Regions from separate parts of the Homo sapiens genome. Here region 1 is linked to region 2. Evidence: promoter capture Hi-C in 16 types of primary human blood cells and fetal thymus (Javierre and others, 2016). All regions are on one chromosome and are shown on one strand. Each heading gives the region's core, a stretch centred on a gene start or on the middle of the fragment in contact. The rest is flanking DNA. Distances are from core to core; before and after follow the strand shown. Region 1 overlaps PRKCH (protein kinase C eta). Region 2 holds the start of PRKCH-AS2 (PRKCH antisense RNA 2).

What was found. Contacts are between HindIII fragments. The CHiCAGO score rates a contact against its expected background, and 5 or more counts as called.
Region 1: a fragment that was not itself captured here is called in contact with the fragment with the promoter of PRKCH-AS2 in region 2 in 3 of 17 cell types (neutrophils, activated CD4 T cells and M0 macrophages); the score reaches 16.3 in neutrophils.

Annotation. Positions count from the first base shown.
Region 1 is chr14:61,491,668-61,494,367 of GRCh38, reverse strand. The region is part of intron 10 of PRKCH (protein kinase C eta); the gene reads right to left. Among named protein-coding and RNA genes, the nearest start is that of PRKCH-AS2, 52 kb to the left of the region's middle. The HindIII fragment of the contact is 5,736 bases long and covers 1-2,700 here.
Region 2 is chr14:61,544,121-61,546,820 of GRCh38, reverse strand. PRKCH-AS2 (PRKCH antisense RNA 2) reads left to right here and starts at 1,337. Exons shown (of 3, transcript NR_188139.1): 1 at 1,337-1,727. The region is part of intron 12 of PRKCH (protein kinase C eta); the gene reads right to left. The HindIII fragment of the contact is 1,799 bases long and covers 1,010-2,700 here.

The DNA of each region.
Region 1 (2,700 bases), core at 41-2,540, 52 kb after region 2:
TAATACACTGGCACTTTGGGGATACTTACTCTAAATGATGAACATACCAATTGTTTCTATAACCCTGGAGCCAAATTTAGGCAGATTTCTAATGGAGTCTGGTTCCCCAGGGTTCTGTCCTTGACTCACACTGTTCCATTTAAGAGACTCCTATTGGGTGATCTCATTCAGTCTCGTGGTCTCAACTAATAGCTATGTCCTGATGACTTCCAAATATTTAATTCAGCCCATCCTCTTTACTGAGCTTCAGACTCCTATGCCCCTATCCATGGAGCATCTCCACTGGAGTATACCTCAGGCACCTGTCATACAACCTTTCTAAAACTTCTTCCTCTTTTGCCTAGACTTCTTCCTAGGCACATGATCTCTCCTAGCTAATGGCACTGCCATCCACTCAACCTTCTAGCTAAACACCTGGAAATGATTTCCGGTTTCTTTTTTACCCTGAATCCACCCAAATACTAAGTCCTATCAGCTTTACTTGCTATTATCTCTTATGCCTTTCTCATCAGCCCTACCATCACTGTCTTAGTTCAGGTCCTCATTATCTTGTTACTTGGAACTCTGCAACTGCCTCAAAATGAACCTCTCCCTTGCAACCTGGCTGCTGCTTACCATGGGTATGTCCACACATGCCATGCCCCCCACCCGCACGTAAAAGTAAAATATAAATCCACTCATGTCATAAGACCTGCTGAGAATTCTTCAAAGGTTACCTGCTCCATAAAGCCCAGACTCCCTGGCATGGAATTTGTGTCTGACACTGCAAGTTTTCTATCAAATAATGATTCTTTCCCTTCTTAATAATGGAATGCTGATTTTTAGCTGGAACATGGCCACTTGTAATACTGTATTTCTTGGCTTTCACTGGAGCTAGACTCAGCCATATGATCAAGTTCTGGCCAATTCCATGGTAAGTACTGTGTGGAATTCCAGGAGGCCCCTTAAAGGGAGCTGACTCAGTTTGGAGGAATGCCCTCTAGCCCTTCTTACTACATGGAATTGGAATAGAGAGATGATTCCTAGATCTTCAGCAACCATTTAGACAAGGACGTGACCCTGTCTACAGCAGAACAGAAAGCACAGAAATCTGGGTTGCAAATGACTCCACGGAGCTTCCATGGCGGGGCTGGACTACCTACCTCCAGGCTTTTCATGTGAGAGAGCACTATGTTTCCATCTGGCTTAAGCCACTGTCATTTTTATGTTTCCTGTGATAGGCAATGGAGCAAAGTCCTAAGTGACCCAGAATTCAAACATCTCAAGAACAGTAAGTGCTTAATACTTCATTTCTGCAGCCTCCTCTAGCCTTCCCTCTTCCCATGCCTCCAACTTCAGGCTCCAGTGCTACCAAAGTTCCTGTCATTTTCCACTTTAACTACACATTCACCACACTTCTCTGCTTTGCTCAAACTTGCTCCCCTACCTAAACACCCTCCTTATCTTTGTTCAGCTTTTAACTCTTCACACTCAGCTCAGGCATCACCTCCTCCAGGAAGTTTGCCTGAACATCCATCTTAGGGCAAGTGGCCATTCTGTCTGCTCCCAAGATACCCTGGGAAAACTCCAATTTTGGAACCCAGCTGCCATGACTTATTAATGGCTATCTCTCTCACCCCACAGAAAGCGCCTCAAAGGGCAGACATCTCATCTACTCATCTTGTATCTACACCTCCTAATGCAACATCCGGCACTAGGTGGCAGCTCAGGAAATATGTTCTGATCTCAACTGGATTTTTCTCACTGCAATGGAGTAAACAGGGTTGAATGCCTCAAAATGTCTTGGTTTGCTCTTCATGCCAGCTGTAAGTTGAAGACTGAAACAAAATTTTCTAGCCATATTTTTGTTTTCCTGGAGATGGAAAGCAAACAGCAGATGAGTCATCCGAAGAGAATATCCACTATGAGAAACAATTTTTGGACGTTTCACACCTGAAGTCCCTCATCTGTAAAAGATAACTTGGCCCTTAGCAACGTTTGAGGTCTCCTCTGGCTCTAATATTTTATAAACCCATTGTTGAGTATAAATGCACAGACCTGGACACAGAGAACTCACTGTGAATAGATGGCTCCTCCAGGGATTGGCAACATGACCGGCCTTACCTAACCTTCAAATAAATTATTTACAAGGAGTGTTTAATAAAATCTTGAAGTCATCAGCTGACTGAACACTGTAGGATAATAAAATGCCAAGTGAAGTAAGATACGCTTCCTAGACTCCAGCCAGGCTGGCCTGCTCTAAAAACCCCTGACCTTGCCACACTCCTTCCTGTTACTGGGCATCTATCTGCGTTTGCTGTTTCTTCTGTCTCAAATGTTCCTTCCTTCCCTCTTTACCGTGACCTCAGCCCAAGAGTCACTTCCTTATAAAAATCTTCCATCTTTCCCTAACTGGATAGAATCACCCTATTCTAGGTTCTCATTCACTGCATTGTATTTCTCCTCTTCATAGCACTAGTCATGGTTGCTACTTTTTATTGGTATAATCATTTGATTGACATCTTTCTCCCTCACTGGATCATACCCTCCACTGGCGAGTATTTTTGTTTTTGCTCATACCATTACATCCATATCCTTGGCAGAAGGGTGACGCTCAACAAATACTTGTTAAAAGATCTCCAGAGGCCATGCAAGGGTGCAGAACAGTGGCTGATGAGTTTCACTACGGGAAAAGGGAAGACCCCATTTGAGGGAAATGCT
Region 2 (2,700 bases), core at 88-2,587:
AATTTCCCATATTGAAAGAAAATTGCCTTGGATAAAAAGTTTTGTTTTTGTTTTTATTTAAATCAGGTTATCTTTAAATAGACTCATGACAGTCCCCAAGCACCTCTTTCCAAATCTGATTTGTGAACAACACAAAAGTAATGCTGTGTTTATAAAAATTGTTTTGGAGCTGAATTTACAGAGAAAATCTTGTTGAAGGTGCAGACACGGAAAGACAGTGTTTGGAGGTACCTCCCACTGCCATGCCAGGTGTCCAGAGGTGTCAAGCTGCCAGTGTTGATTCAAATGAAAATGATAATGTTGAAGAAGGAGGCTGCAAAAGTTCCTAAGCAACCTGACGGGATATACCTTGTAAAATGCTTTCAAAAAAGCTTCAAAGGGCAGCTAATAAATGAATATACTGACAGGGTTTAATCGCTTCTCCTCTCTCCTAGTAACAGGAATTAAAGGCCACAGGTGGTTCTGGGTTGGAGGCAGGACCCAAAAGTAAATGCAGCATTCAGAGCTGCACAGGCCCAGTCAGAGCAGCTGCCACTTCAGGCACTTACAGTGGTCACCCAGGATTCAGGAGATGCATATTATAAGTAACTCAGTTCTGTAAGAGCTAGGAGTTAGTTCACACTGCTTGGGCTCTCACTAAGTAAGCCTGTGCAATGCAGGCAGGAAGGGAGAAAATGCTTACAAAAAAGAAATGAGTAGATTCTTGCCTTAGGAAAGTCAACGGGATACAATTCCTGATGGAAGAGCAGTTGCTATTCTAAGAGCTAATTAACAAGAAACAATGCTGCAAAAAACTTGGGAGACAGGACGGCAGAACACACCCAGATGGCCTGTGGGAAATTCCCAGGCCTGCCAATGATGTGAGAGAGGACATCTTGTGAATGGGTGGGTACAGCCTGTTCTTCTGGGCAAGACAAACAGTGCAGGACTCTATATGCCAGGGTGGCTGAAGCCCCAGTGTCCAAGAGGCTTGCCCATTCCTCCCTGCCCCTGGCACTGAACCCAAGCTTCCATGGGGCACTGTGGAAGAGGCCTTGCCTGACGACAAGTAGACCAAACACGACCGTCCGTCCTCTAAAAACTGCACCCTTGGAATTGGGGACAGGCAGAATAACCCTTTCACTAGCTTGATACTTAGCCTCTTGGGGTTCTGATAAATCCTTTTGAATAACCAAGCAGTTTTGTTTTTAATACCTTGGCCTGAGCCCTTTAGATGCAGCCATCCTCAACTTACAAAAAAAACAAACCAAAAGAAAAAACAAAACACACACACACACAAACAAACTTTGATTCAATTGACAAAGGTTTTCAAGGTGTCTACTACATGTAAGGCAGCACACTAGGGGTTTCTTGGGGATACGCAGATGACAAAGACAGTGTCTCTTCATCCAGGAGCTAATCAAGAGAAGGGGGAAGAATCAAGCAAACTTCATAATACACAGCCGGATGAAATGAAAAGAGACTTAGATCAAGTGCTGTGAGAGCTTGGAAGAGGCACGGGGCAAATAACACTGGGGCTGGTGGTGGGAAGGCAAGTGACAGCCTCGTGGAAGAGGTGGCATTTGACCAGAGATGAGGACGAACAGAATTAACATAGTAGGCATGAAGGAAGAAAATGCGCCTGAGGACACAGCCAGCACAAATGCAGAGGCATACAAGTGCCTGGTACAGCTGGCATGCAGGGATGGCTGAGGAACTGCGGGGGCAGCCGGTGGGATCCATCCGAGGTGAGTGATGAGAGCTGCACGGCAATTTAGGGGATGACACTAGCCACAGCGTGATGAATAAATCTTAAATGCAGAGGTAGCGCCTGGTGGTGAGCAGTTAGAGGCTGAGACAATAGCTGAGAACACATGACAAGTTCAGCAACTAGGAGAGTTTCTAGTTAATTGGAAGGAAGAGTTGGAAGCACATTCTAGAGGGCCGTGGAAGAATAAACACAATCCACTAACTGCCGGGAATGGGAGTGAAGAGTCCAAGATCACAGGGTCCTCCCTGGCTGCCTGATGGGGCAGTGGTGTTGAGTAACAGAAATGGAACAAAAGAGGGGCAAGAGATTATTCTTTGTAGCATGAGTATTAGTAGCAGTGTTAGTAGTAGTAGTATTTTTGTTAGTGGAACAAAGACAAAAATAGCTCACACTTACTGAGATCCTACAGTCTGCCAAATCTGGGAGGCTGATGGGCTCCGCTTTGCATTGGAGGTGTGTGGGCACCCACATGCAGATGAATTCTAGGGTAAATCTGGGGTGCAGGCCAGGGCTGGCCATCTAACGCTCAGAGACATTGAAATTTGAGTAACCACTGAAGCTGGGAGGGCAGGTTAGATTGTGGAAAGTGACAGAGACAGACTAGAACTGATACCAGCCCTAGGTCTCAGACACATTTTATTTGGCCTACCTAGTGTGTTTTGAAATAATTTTAATTACTTCTCAAATATTTAAACGCTAGGAAATGTCACATCACATGAAAAGTCAGGTTTTCCAACTTCTCGTGGAAAATGAGATACTCGGGAACACTGGGCCTGCACTCCTCTCATAGAAACGGCCTGGAGTTGAGCAGGGGCTTCTGCTTTTCATGGGGCACCAGATGCCCAGTCAGTCACATGCCCCACCACTCCCTATCACCTCCCACCTGGCTGGTATCACTCACGGACTTTCATGGCTCCTGACCCCTGGTGTAGGGTGAGAAGCAGCCAGAG